Regions from separate parts of the Homo sapiens genome. Here all the other regions are linked to region 2. The links are contacts of gene promoters, found by promoter capture Hi-C in blood cells and fetal thymus (Javierre and others, 2016). All regions are on one chromosome and are shown on one strand. Each heading gives the region's core, a stretch centred on a gene start or on the middle of the fragment in contact. The rest is flanking DNA. Distances are from core to core; before and after follow the strand shown. Region 1 overlaps AHDC1 (AT-hook DNA binding motif containing 1). Region 2 holds the start of GPR3 (G protein-coupled receptor 3). Region 3 overlaps AHDC1 (AT-hook DNA binding motif containing 1).

Evidence for each region. Contacts are between HindIII fragments. The CHiCAGO score rates a contact against its expected background, and 5 or more counts as called.
Region 1: a fragment that was not itself captured here is called in contact with the fragment with the promoter of GPR3 in region 2 in 9 of 17 cell types (non-activated CD4 T cells, fetal thymus, naive CD4 T cells and 6 more); the score reaches 8.3 in non-activated CD4 T cells.
Region 3: a contact is called between a fragment that was not itself captured here and the fragment with the promoter of GPR3 in region 2, in 2 of 17 cell types (endothelial precursors and naive CD4 T cells). The highest score is 5.8, in endothelial precursors.

The regions. Positions count from the first base shown.
Region 1 is chr1:27,582,272-27,586,906 of GRCh38, reverse strand. All of the region lies in intron 3 of AHDC1 (AT-hook DNA binding motif containing 1), which reads left to right. Among named protein-coding and RNA genes, the nearest start is that of AHDC1, 20 kb to the left of the region's middle. The HindIII fragment of the contact is 3,903 bases long and covers 1-3,249 here.
Region 2 is chr1:27,390,856-27,395,440 of GRCh38, reverse strand. GPR3 (G protein-coupled receptor 3) reads right to left here and starts at 2,819. Exons shown (of 2, transcript NM_005281.4): 1 at 2,704-2,819; 2 at 1-1,647. The coding sequence starts at 1,642. The coding sequence ends at 650. RefSeq lists enhancers at 431-1,228, 2,057-2,592, 3,130-3,666, 3,667-4,203 and a silencer at 2,616-3,115. The HindIII fragment of the contact is 9,449 bases long and covers 1-4,585 here.
Region 3 is chr1:27,533,424-27,537,804 of GRCh38, reverse strand. It overlaps AHDC1 (AT-hook DNA binding motif containing 1), which reads left to right. Exons shown (of 9, transcript NM_001371928.1): 9 at 2,889-3,560. Among named protein-coding and RNA genes, the nearest start is that of WASF2, 45 kb to the right of the region's middle. RefSeq lists an enhancer at 1-265. The HindIII fragment of the contact is 6,262 bases long and covers 1-4,381 here.

The DNA.
Region 1 (4,635 bases), core at 49-2,548, 190 kb before region 2:
CCAGAAGAGAGGACCAGGGTGCCTCTTTTCTTCTGCTCTGACCTGTGTGGTGGTAGATGTGGCCCAGTGTCCAACCCCCCGACCTAGAGGGTGTCAGGACCCTTCCTGCCCACTGACTGGGGAGCAGGGCTTGGAGTGCCCTGGGGATAAGGAGCCAGGAGGCCAATCTGGGGTGGCAGAGCCAGGTGGGTGCCTATGGGTAGCTGGGCTCTGCCTTTGATATTTGGGGTTGCCGGGAGTTGTGGTGTAAGGCAGGTTTTGGTGACACACGCCTCCAGCCCAAGCTGCCCTGGATCCTGGCTTCAAGGGCCCCTTTAAGCATCTCACCTGTGAGGTAGGGCTAGGAGAGAATTAATTTCCTGTGCTATTTTAATTTTGCTGTATTTAATCTGCTGTTTATTTTAATTAATTAATGACGGGTAATCGCCTATCATAACCTACTGCCGCTGGCTCCTCTTCCTTTTCAAATGGGTGGAAGGCTGGGCCAGGTGATTGCCGGGTTAGCTGTGGGGGAGAGGGAGGTCCTTGGAGGCCTGTCCCTCTCCCCTTCTGCCTGTCTCATCCCAGGGGTCCTCTCCACCAGGGGTCCTCTCCTCCCATCTCACCTGTGGCTCCTCCTTTCCCTCCCTCTTCTCGCCCAGGTCTGCTTCAGGGCCTTGGAAGTAGTGACTGTGGCAATGAGGGGCCTGACCTGAGGCCCCTGCCTGTCTCTCAAGAAACAGTATTTTGATGTCATAGGATGGTAGTTGGAAGGATGGGGAGCTTGCCTTGGATGGCGCTTAGGCACCCTTGGGGAAACTTTTGAAGTTGGGGGTCAGTTTTTAACAGCAGCTCCTTTCCCCTCTCCCCCACCCCAGTGCCCAGACAGCATGCCCATCCACATTGTCGGGCCTGTGGGACACCAGCATGTCTTAGTATCTATGGACATATCCGGGGGTATGATTTCAGTTATTCATTAATCCCTAGGACAGACCTCCAGGGGGATTAACCCCTTGTATAGAGGAGATGGCTGAGGCTCAGAGAGGCTAAGTAACTTGCCCAGGGTCACATAGCAACTAAGCAGCAGGGCCTGAATTCTGGCCACAGTCTGATTGCATGGAAAGAGTTAACAGTTGGAGGAAGGGGAGGGGAAGTGGCTTGAGGACTAGGGTGGGGGGATTAGGTCAGAAGACTGATTAGGCCGGGAAATGGGGTCCTCTGCCTCTGGAGGATGTGGGGAGGAGGAGGGGGTCCCTGCCACAAGGGGCTTCTCGAAGGTGTGCAGTCTCTGCTACCTCTTCCCGTTTCCTTGTGTGTCTTCAGTTATCTGTTTGGAACAGGGGCTTTGTCACTAGCTCTGTACCCTACCACAGGAACCTTTCTAGAGCTAGGTGGAGCTCAACTTTTATTTATTTAACAAACATGTATATAGTGTTTACTATGTTCCAGATACTATTCCAACTTTATAAACAGATCTTCACTTAATTATTATTGCAGCCCTTTTATTAGTGTCTTTGTTTCATATATCAGAAAACTGAGGCATAAAAAGGTAAAGTGACTTGCCCAAGGTCACACAGTCAGTATGTGGTGGAGCCGCCCTTTGAACTTGGAAGGCTAGGATCCAGAGTCCTTGTTTGTTCATTTGTTCCTTCTTTTTTTTTTTTTTTTTTTTTTGAGACAGGGTCTTACTCCTGTTGCCCGGGTTGGAGTGCAGTGGAGCAGTCACGGCTCACTGCAGCCTCGACTTCCCAGGGTCAGGTGATTCTCTTCTCAAGTAGCTGGGACTACAGGTGTGCACCACCACACCTGCCTAATTTTTTGTGTTTTTAGTAGAGACGAGGTTTTGCCATGTCGCCCAGACCAAGTAGCTGGGATTACAGGCGCCTGCCACCACACCCGGCTAATTTTTGTATTTTTAGTAGAGACAGGGTTTTACCATGTTGGCCGGGCTGGTCTCGAACTCCTGACCTCAGGTGATCTGCCCACCTCGGCCTCCCAAAGTGCTGAGATTACAGGTGTGAGCCACCACGCCTGTCCTGTCCTGCCCCCTTGATGCCCTAAGTAGGAGATGGGAGCCCTGAATTCCTGGGGGATAAGGCATCTCTGGGGAGCCTCTAGTCTAGGCCGAAGGGGAGACCTAGCCCTGCCCTTCCCAACACTAAGTTTGATGGGGTGATAAGGCAGAGTGCTGTGGGGGAAACAGGCAGAGTGTCAGGCTGTGCCTCGCTAGGAGTGTGCAGATCAGTGGTTCAGAAGCCTCTATAGAGCACAGCTCACCCCGCTACAGTGCTGGCCACCAATGGGAGAGGTGGAAGGGTTGGCCTCAGAGAGCTTGCTGCCCAACTAACTGGAAAAACAAGGCTGATAGGTGTGGTCAATTCTCAACAGTGGGATAAAACAATAAGAGAAAAACATTGCAAAAAAATCATGTCATTTAAAGAATTTGGGCTTTGAATCCTGTGTGTCCTTAGTTACTTGACTCCTCTCTGAGCCTCAGTTTCCTCACCTGTTGAGGGGAAATAATAATGGCATTGATGCTATAGGGTTTTGTGAGGCTCAAATGAGATAAAACATGAAGGTTTAGCTTTGGAGCAGGGGCTCAGTGAGCATCCATCTAGATGCTAAGATCCAATACCTGGAGAAAGAAAGGGTCCCTCCCTGGGGTTGGCATCAGAGCAGATAAGGATGGGAATGGTGAGGATGGAATGGGCAGTGAGCGTCCCGACTTTGGAGTCAGACGGCTTGGGTTTAAATCCCAGCCCCTGGGAGCTGCTTTCCCTCTCTGGGCCTTGATTTCCTTGTCTGTAAAATGAGTATAATACTAGTTCTCCTCTCCTCCATAGGGTGTTGTGAGGATTAAATTAGCTAATTAATTTATTCAACAACTAATATGAAGCACCTGCTGGGTGCCAGACATGTTTCCAGTCACTGCAGATCATAAGGGGTCATGTTAGCAATCTTATTGTTACCACCATAATCTGGAAAGAGGGGACAACTGCTTGGGAAGGAGGCAGAGAGGAGGCTGAAGCCTTCAGAATGGAGATAAGTGAAATGATAAGATGCTATAGAAATAATAAAGAGCTGATACTTAGTGGTTACTATGTGCCAGGCACATTTGCTCATGAAGCAGGGGCTCATATTATCCTTATTTCACAGATAGGAATCGGGTTCAAAGAGGTACAGTGACATGCCCAAGGAAACACAGCTAATAGGGAGAGGGTGGAGCTGCAGTGTGAGAGACTCAAAAGCCACACTATTAGTCACAAAGCTTTAAACCTGATTAAGAGACGGGTTAGGGGTGAGGGCATTGATCCAGCAGAGGAAGGAGGGAGAGACCTGGCCAGGAGAGGGACAGGGGGAATAGAAAGGAAGGACAGAGGTGGGCAAGGCCTTCAACTTCAGGAAACAATTAGAGAATGAACCAAATCAACATACACTCCCCGAGTGGGTTTTCTCAGCAATAAACAACAAGACATGAGCTCAGGGAAGGGAACAAGTGAAGTCTGGAGGGAGGGCTTCCCAGAAGAGGTGAATCTTGAGAAATGGGTAGTTGAAAGAGATGGGGGAGCCAGAGCATGCCAGGCAGGGTGCCGGGCACCAGCAAAGGCCCTGAGGTGAGAATGAACGCGGCTTAGGGCTCAGAAGTGGGAGGAAATTGCTGAGTGAGATCAGGATGAGGATTGGGAGGGCTGGTGGCCTCAAGGACATAGGGAGGGTGACAGATTCGAGAGGCTTAGCTAATGTAGAAATAGAAATAAACGGCCAGGCATGGTGGCTCACGCCTGTAATCCCAGCACTTTGGGAGGTTGAGGTGGGCGGATTACCTGAGGTCAGGAGTTCGAAACCAGCCTGGCCAACATGGTGAAACCCCATGTGGTGGCAGGCACCTGTAATCCCAGCTACTCGTCAGTCACTTGAACCCAGGAGGCGGAGGTTGCAGTGAGCCGAGAGTGCGCTATTGCACTGCAGCCTGGGTGACAGAGGAAGACTCCGTCTCAAAAAAAAGAGAAATAGAAATAAACCCCCATCTGGACAGAAACTACAGTATAGTGATCAAGAAGGCAGGCTCTGCAGTCCAATCCTAGCTAAGTTGTGTCCCACCATGTGAACAGGGCAAGTCAACTGAACATCGCATCTCCAAAACACAGGGTCATCAAAGTACCTGACCCCTCCGATGAGATGCTCTGTGAGGAGTGCTTAGCACAGTGCCTGCCATGCAGTAAGCACTTGACTCATGCATTCATTCCTTAACCATCAAGTGCACACTTGATGTCAGGCACTTTTCTAGGACACACAGCAGTGAACAAAACAGACACAAATCCCTGCCCTCAAGGAGCTTACATTTAGAGGGTAAAACAGACAGTTAATGTAAAAACAAGTGAAATAAATGGTCGTTAGATGGTGATATGTACCAAGGAGGAAAATGAATCAGAGAAGGGGCATTGGGCATGCCCACATTACAGGGTTACTGCAGTTTTAAATCAATGTACAGATGGAGGCTGTTGTTACTCTTATTTGTATAGCAGGTTTTAGTAGAAAAAGCACCTTCCAGTTTACAAGGCAGTTATTCCTTGTGAGAATCAAGTGAGATACAGGTATTGCCATCCCAATTTTATAGATAAGGACAGTGTGGCTTGAAGACAACAATCTGACTGA
Region 2 (4,585 bases), core at 1,570-4,069:
CTCTGGTTTCTATGATCTCTTCGATAAAAAATAATCCAAAATAATAACAAAATACGTGGTTTCTCTTTCACCCTTTCCCCCCTCCAGGAACTGAGGTCAGAAATGGGGGTGAAGGGACAAGGGATACCCTGGTATGGCCTGGATATCAAGGTGTGGGCCTCTTTTTTGCCCCTTACCACCCATAAGTAAATTTATAAATAAATAAATCAATCATAAATAGACACTGTCTTTGTATATGTGCATATATAATCTTTCTCTCTCCTATTTAGGCAACTATGTGACTAATCTCTCTGACTCTTTAGCTCAGAAATTCAAACATAAAGTGACATGGTCAAGGTCAAGTTTGGGGGAAGAGGGACATCTGGGACTTGGAATGGCACTGTAAAACTCCCAGCATTCTGGAATTGCAACCCAGCTGGGCTGTGAGACATTTCTGAGTAGAACACTGACCACCTGAACATTCTGGAACCGTGGAGCCAGCTGGGCCCCCATAGGGATCTGAACAGAACCTTGAAACACCCAATGTCCTAGAACTCCAGAACCAGCTGGGTCTGGGGGGTGTGGAGCTGGGGGTTTGGAAAGAAGCCCTGGAGAGCCTAACATTCTGGAATTCTGTAGTAATCAGGGTTGAAGGGTCATGAAGACTCAGCTAGACATCACTGGGGGAGCGGGATCGGAAGGGGATCTTGGAAGAGGAACAGCAGCAGCAGACAGCCCACAGCACTTTCTGCACATCCTGGTTGCGGAAGGCGTAGATGATAGGGTTGATCATGGAGTTGTAGGTGGCAGGGAGCAAGGTAAGATAGGTGTAGAGAGGTGGAGAGTGGGCATCACCCAGCAGGCAGTAGACAGTGAAGGGCAACCAGCAGGCGGCAAAGGCTCCAAGCACCACGGCCAGTGTGGCAATGCCCTTGCGGGTGGCCACATAGTGGGAGGCAGGCAGCAGGTGCCGCTGAAGGGCAATCTGCTGGGCATGGCGGCAGACGATGCGGCAGATTTGGGCGTAGAGCTGCAGCATGATGCCAAACACCATGAAGAAGGCAATGGCCAGAACTACCAGATGGTTCTTGGAGAGTGGATAAACCACGCCACATGTGGTCAGGCCATCCAGGCAGTTCCAGGCCAGCACAGGCAGCAGCCCCAGGCCCAGGGCACCTCCCCACACTAAGGCCAGCATCACATAGGTCCGTGTCACTGTTGTCTCTGAATAGTAGGTGAGGGCATTGTACAGAGAAAGGTAGCGGTCGACAGTGATGGCCAGTAGACTGCCGATGCTGGCGGTAAAGGCCATTGCCAGCACGCCAACCAGCACCAGGCTCATCTCCGCTGAGCCGATGCAGAAGACAGCAGCAAAGTGCAGGACCAGGCCCAGGCCTGCCAGCAGGTCTGCCACGGCCAGGCTGCCCACCAGCAGGAACATGGGGGCACGGAAGGCAGGAGTGCCCACGATGATGGCCACCACTAGCGCATTCTCGCAGGACACCAGGGTGCCTGAGATGCAGAGCACCACATCCCAGGCCTTAGGCGAGGGCAGTGGTGCGGCTGGACCTGTGGGCCCCTCTGCTGGGCCCACGCTGCTTACATTCACGTTGCCTGAGCCAGCTGAGAGCCAGGCCAGAGGGCTGCCTGCACCCCACATCATGGTACCTGCAGGAGAAAGGCCTTGTGAGAAGCTGACCAAGCTGGGTGATGGGAGTTGGGGTCTGGAGGGGGTGAGGTGCTTCTCAGGATACGTGGTGGGAGTCTCTCCTCAGGATACCTGATAGGGTCCCAATGCCTTATCCCCACATTCATGCCCTGGGGCTCTTCCCAGGATACCGCTGTCCCCTCCAATGCCCCCAGGCCTCTAAACAGGGGTCTCTTCCTGGGGATCCCTGTCCTAGGTCCTGCAGGTCTCTTTTTCCCACGTGTGTGACCAGAGGAGAGACAGAAGAAGGGGTACTATAAGTGGAAGAGGGCCATAGGATCCAGGGGATGCCCCCGAAGGCTCAAGATTGGGGTAGGGAAACATCTACCCCATCAGGGAGACTGAGCAGCTCCGCTCCCTCCCATCAGAGATGATGATGCTAGCTCGTGCCTGAGGCTCCCAGACCCCTCACGATTTTCAGTACTGCCAGCCTTAGACTCCGCCCCCAGGGAATGCGCGTGAAGCTCCCGCCAGCCATCACCCCGCACTCCCGCGGTAACACCTGGGAACTCAGCCCCCCACCCCCCACCCTCCCAGACTTCTGTTCCTGGCTGGACCCTTCTTTCCGCCTGAATCTCTAGGTCTCTGGGCAGACCCCCCTGCTGGAAGACTGGATCCCTGAGTCAGATGCCTCCTTCTGCCCGGACACCTGGATTTTGGGCCTGACTCTGCCTCCTGCCTGGATACCTGGATTCCTAAATTGGACACCTCCTGCTGTTCGGACCCCTGGGTCCCTGCCCCAGACGCCTCCTGCCGGCTTAACCTCAGATGACCATCAGTCCCTCCAGGGCCTCGGGTCCCTGCAGGAATGCTTACCCTTCGCCGGGTCATCCAACTCAACCCCAGCACTCGAGCACTTGGGCCCAAGCCTGCTAACCCAGAATCGCCTAAACCCAGAATTCCCACCTCGAACTCGAACCCCGGCCGGCCACTAGGAGCCTTCCGCCGGCCCAGTGCCCCAGCATCCTGCGTGCCCTTCAGGACCCCTGGTGCCCGCGGCGGGGCCCGCTACTCACCGCTCAGGACCAGGCGCGGCCGGGCCGCGGGGAGGCTCCGCTCGGGTCCTGGCGGCGCAGGGCGTGCGTGGACCCCGAGAAGCCCCCGCGGCCGCGGGAGAAGCGGCGTGAGTCACCCCGCCCCGCCCCCGGCCACCGGTTCGGTGACGTCAGCGGTCCGATCAGCCAATGGGCGCGGCGCGCTGGGGCGCAGCGCGCGTTGCGCGGCATAGTAATAAGGCCTCGCACCGCCCGCTCCCCCATTCATAAAAAGCGACCGTGGCTGCGGCCCCGCCCCCTCCCGAGTCCGCCCGCGCTGTCCTTGACGCGGCGCCCTCTGCGGGCCGGGGGTTTCAGAGGCGCCGGTGCGAGAGCCTTGAAGTCTCAGAGAGGCTGCAGGGAACGTGGTGGAAGAGTGGAAAGGGGGCCCGGCTAGGCTGTGGGGTGATGGGACCCTTGGGTGGCAGAGAGGCTGACGAGATCCAGGTGACGAAGGAAGAGCTTGTGATGGGGCTGGTTGGGCTTCCCTGGTGAGAATGACAGGGTTTCCAAGATGATGGGGCCCTGAGGTGACGATGACAGGGAGCACGAGGGAGCGGGGAGGTGGGTGGCAGTGACGACATTAGCATGGTGACAGAATCTTGGGGTGGGGGGTGATGGCCGTGGGACGCTAACGGTAGAGGGGAAGCCCTCAGGGCAACCATGGCAGTGTCAGGGTGACTATGCAGCAGGGGGGAGTTCAGGGACCCCGGGATGGCAGAGGCAGCGGCCTGGGAACATGGAGTGTCCAGGTGACTTCAGGTCACCATTACCCTGTCAGAATGGCTGGGGTACTGAAGCGACAATGCTAAGCCATGAGGACTGTGGGGCCCTGGAACGAAGATAGCAGGTGGCTGTGGTGAGTGGGCTCCAGGGTGAGGGGCACAGGGTAGAGGGTCTGGACTGACAGTGACCAGGCAGGTAAGTTGCTGCCAGGGCAAGTCCCGTGATGCCGGGGCTGGGATAAGAGCTGGGTGACGTCACTCATGTCAGCCCAATAGCGCCCTCACAGCACCGGAGGGGTGGGCCTGGCAAGATTTCAAAACCTGAATTATTTATTCCAGTATCTAGAAAGCCAGCGTGGAGGGGGTGAGGGGTGCACTTCCCTGAAGCAGGAGGAGATGGGGAGCCGGGAAGAACTTGGAAGCAGAAAGCCTGGCAGCTCAGTCCTCAGGGCAGGCCCCTCTCAGCCTCCTATTTTAGGCATCCTGATGGGTGGAGCAAGGAGAAAGAGCTCCCTCTTCCCCAACGCCATCTGCCCTTAGTCCAGGGGAACCACTCTGGGCAGACTTCTCCAGATGTGACAGATGTGGCCAGTCCTGCGGCAGGGGGACTGGCTGCTCCTTCTCCCTGTGTCTCTTGCCTTGATGCTCCCTGGAATCATGCAGGCCTGTGGGAGGGGAAGATGAGGTTAAGAGGCCTGAGGATCCCAGGCCCCACTGGACACCCCCATCACAGCACCATCACTGCAGCCCCCATGGTCAGCCTCCACCAGGCAGGTTTTGGGTTTGAGTGTGAGGCAGCAGAAGGTCAAGTGGCAGGGAACATGGGAGGAGGAGGGGGTCGGAGCTGGAGAAGAGGATTCATTTCAGGTTGGATGTGGTGAGTTTAGGGGGCTTAGGGGGTGGAAGTGTCCAATCTCAGTTTCTCCATTTCCTAGCTGGGTGACTTTGGAGAGTTTCTTCAGCTCTCTGTGCCTATTTCCTCATCTAAAACACAGGGATAATATTAGTACCGGCCTCATGGGGTTGTTGAGTGGGTTCTACTTGCCATTGGCCATCAATGTTACAGCTGGATAATGAGGGACACCTGGGAGGTGTAGGCATGCAGGTGGCAACTGATGTTTTAGGGGTAAATAATGTCA
Region 3 (4,381 bases), core at 564-3,063, 140 kb before region 2:
CTCAGATGGTGAAACCACCGGAGCATGAGGACTCAGAGGAATGTGGCTCTGCAGTTGTGTGTCACGGAGGCACTAAAAGGTGAAGTCTGCAGAACAGTGGTTGGTGTGCTGGGGGCCGGTGCGTGCTAGCCCTGGGTGTGCAGCAGTACCACATATAGGTTCCTGCCCTGGAGGAGCCAGGTCGGGATGACAAGGGTACCGTAGCTATGGTAACAGGGTGGTCTAAGGAGGTGTTCTGAAGGTGTGCAAGGCCGGAGCTGGACCTTGACATGCTGACCAGACTCAGGTCAGTCCCCGCTCTGTCACTCAGTCAGCGTACGTCTTGGCCCCAGCATGTGCTGGGTAGTGTTCAGCAGTGGTTGAAGAGCCACAGTCTCTCCTGCCACGACCAGGTTAGCTGCCTCCCCAGGACCTTCCGTGGCACAGCCCCTGTCTCCCTGCGTGGTAATTACCCTGGTTTGGGGTCTGCTTTGCTTTCCCCTCTATCTGTGAGCCTCTCAAAGACAGGAACCAGATCGGTCTTGGTCTCTGCTTTGTCCCCAGTGCCTAGCACTGGGCTGCCTGGCACGTTAGTGTCTGGTCCTGCTTTGTGGAGAGCTGAACCTGGTGAGGTCAGGGTTCCACACAGCCACAGCATTCTCCCCCACCTCCATGAGAGAACCCTGGGGCTTTTGGGCTTTGATTTCCCCCCTCCCCCGCTCCTTCCCATCCCGAAGATTCTGCCAAAGTCTCTGGCTGGCCAAGTCCTGAAAGCTGGGGAGGGTAGTGGGAGGAGGAAGGTGAGACGCGATGGGCGGCTTAGCAGAGGGTGAGAAAGCCTCCTGCTGCCTGGCCGCAGGCACCGCGGGAATGGTTCTGGCAGGAGCCGCCTGCTGGGCTGAGATCACCATGGAGACCTGGCTTAGAGAGGGTCACTGGCAGTGGCTAAGGGCCTGGGGTGGGGGTGGGGGTGCAGGGATTTGTGCAGAGGCTCCCAGCCTGCCCCGGGGCCCTTGGAGGGAGCAGGGGAGGCTGGCGTTGGACAATATCAGTTTGCCAGTGGTTTGGAGCAGCCCATCCTAAAGTCCCCTTCCCTTGTCACCCCCAACACCCCAACAGAGGTTCTTTAGCTTGGCAACTGTTCTTCAACCGCAATAGAGCAGTCCTCTGGATAGATGCCCCCAGCGCTCTGGCTCAAGCAGTTACCCCAGATAAAATCATTCTGCTCCCTAATAGACACCCCTCTTGTCTCTGCAGCCTGTTTACCGCCTGACTGTGGAGAGCTTGCATTCATCCCAGCAGCAGCCCTTGCCCCAAGAGCTGCTTTTCTACCTATCACCCCATTGCAGCACAGCTGTCACCCTCCCAGGCACACCGCTCGCCCCTACGGCTAGTATTCCATCCTCCTGCAACTGCAGGCAACCTGACAGCTTAACAAAGATGCAGCTCTTCTCCTCTCCTATGCCTCTGCCTGCCACCTGGTCTGGTCCACCAGGATGAGGTGCTGCCCTGCCTCTGCAGGAGCCCACCTGGTTCCCCTGGACCTTGGGGGAGTCCTGGCAAGTCCAGCCTCAGGACAAAAGTCGTCCCCGGGGCTGACTGCCCAGCAGACAGCAGCCGAGGCTGAGCAGAATTTAAATGTGGCTCTGGTAGAAAGGGAAGCCAAGAAAGTACAAGGGAGGAGAGGCTTTCTGCCGCCGCCTGATTCCTGCTGGTGTGGGGGAGGACGGATGGGCTCCTAAGGAACCTGAGGAGGCCCTTTCAGCATCCTCACCTCGCCCTTTAATTCGGATGGAGATGGTCGCACACTGAGGGTGGGAGATGTGTGTCTCGGGGCTCTGAGAGGAGGACAGAAGTCTGAAAGGACCAGGCTAATAATGACTGGAGCTCTTAGGAAGTCCCGAGCCCATCCCTGTCCTTCAGGGGACCTTCTCACTCACCCTAGCAGAGCTGTGAATCCAGGGGGTCTAGCCAAGCTGGGGGTCTGGGTAGGGAAGTCAGATCCCCAGGGCCCCGCAAGCATAATGAGAACTGTCTGGGAAAAAGGGGTACTTCCAATCTCGAGTGTCTGGCGATGGGAGGAACTGGGAACTTGGGAGTGTCTGAGCTTCAGGAAGGCAGGGTTAAGCCAAACACAGATGGCATTGTGTTGGGCAGTTTCTCTGTTCTTTCACTGAGAAAGACTTCCTCCTCACCTCACCTCTCTAAGGAACAGAATGGCATTGGTAAGAAGAGGATTGGATTTAGAAGAAATAAAAGCAGTTGTTCACACCTGTGCTGTGTGCTGAGGCCCTGCCCTCCCCATGATGTCATTCCTCAGAACAGCCTAAGTTGGAGGAATTACTAAACTCATCATGACATGAGGAGGCAGGTTTGGAGAGCCTAACTGCCCCAGAAAAATAATAATGAATAATAATCAGTATAATTTATTATGCACTTAAGGACCAGGCTTCATCTGTCCTATACCGCTGAATCCTCCCAGCAAACCAATGGGGTAGTTCAGTTATCTTCTTTTTACAGATGGGCAAACTGAGGCTCACAGAAGTTCAACAACATGCCCAAGGTCATAGCACTACTAAAGGGTGGCACTGGTATTTGAACTCAGCTGTGTCTGATTCCAGAGCCCAAGCTCTTAACAAATTCCACTGCCTGGAACCCCACCTCCTCACCCAGCACCTGCTTCACCCTGTGTTTTGGGGCTTGGACACGCATATTTTACAGATGGGGAAACTGGGCTCAGAGAAGGCAGGTCTGAGTTTTTGTGAGAAAGAACAGTGGTTAGCTTTCCCCCTCACCCTGCTGAATCCTGGGAGGAGCTGGGTGGGGGTCTCCCTCTTCACTTCCCTGATCTCAGAGCACAGTCGATGCGTGCCGCTCACTCCTGCCTCTTCTCTTGTGTTTCTTTGCAGCTTTCAGAAAACCAACGCCAAGATCCCTCCCAGCGTCCACATCGTCCTCTGGCAGGAGCTCCTGCCCCTCTGCCTCCCACCCTGCCCCCTACACCCCCTGCAGACCCATCTCCCTCCACCCCCTCCCACCCATCTCCTCCACGCAGAAGCCGAAGGTGAGCCCTTTCTGCACAAAACCAGCAATTGTAAATACTTTTTAAAAATGTACAAAACTTAAAAACAAAACACAGTTTTAGAAAAAGACAAAAAAAAAAAAGAGAGAGAGAGAGCGAGAGAGCGAGCGTGTGCAAGAGGTTGCGAGCGGGGCCCCGAGGTGTCCAGAGCCCCTGCAAGTATGCACTGAGAAATTTATCTACAGGTCGTTTGACAAAAATGAACAATATCCTATTTATTGTATATACTGTTTTATTATAAATCGTGGATTGTATATTGCATTCTGTAAACCTGCTGTGGTCCCGTGGTGTGCAAATTCGCATGGTGGGGGGGAGGGAGAAGAACCTCTTGCGGGAGCTTTTTTTTTCTTTCTTATTTTTCACTCTTTTGGGTTTTCTCTTCTGTTGTTGTTGTTGTTGTTTTCTGTTGGCAGGACACACCCAAAGATCCAAGTTTGTATTAAAAAGAAATGAAAAAAAGCAAAAAAAAAACAAAAAAAAAACAAAAAAAAAAAACCAACCTTGTGTCTTGTGAAAGGGGGAGTGAGGGTGGAGGGAATGGAAGGGACACCGCTGGGTTTTGTCACCAGCTACTGGTTCTCCAGAGGAGTTGAAATACCTACACGTGTTCCTGGCCACTGAGTTTTCCCTTCTGCCTGAGATCTGGGTTCCCCCTCATTTCACTCCAGGCCCTGCGTCTCCCCTGCCTCTGAGCTCCCCACTCTGCTGCCGAGGACATCCTGGCCCTTGATCATGCGTTCAGTCCCAGGTCCAGGGATTCTGCCTCTTGGACCTCCATTTTGTCCTAGGTCCTGGGTCTCCTCTGACTCTCCCTATATTCTATCCCAAGTCCAAGGTCTCCCCAAATGCTGGGTTTCCTCTCCCTGAGGAACCTCCATCATGGGGCTCCTGCTTCTGGACCCCCTTATTCCATCCAAGGTCCCAGGTCTCTGCCTCGAGTCCCTTTGTGTGTCCTGTGTATTCATGGCCTTTGGGCCTCACAGTTCTACTCTGGTTCAGGGACATCTCTCTTGGCGACACTCATTCCGTCCTAAGTCCCGGAACCCTCATGGGGCCTCCCTTTCCCACTAGGATTGGAGTGCCCCCCGTCTATGTATCTCCCATTTGCCCCAGGTCATCAGTCTTCTCTGCTTCCAGGCCCCTCATTTTACCCCAACACCCCCACATCTGCTTATGCAGAACCTGGGATATGACGAGGCCAGTCACCCCAGTGTTGCTCTGCCCTCCCCTTTCTGTCTACCCTGAACTCCAAATGTTTCCTCCCTGCTTTGGTAAACTTTGGAAAAAGAAAACTCCTAACCCTGTGCCTGCGTCTGGTGG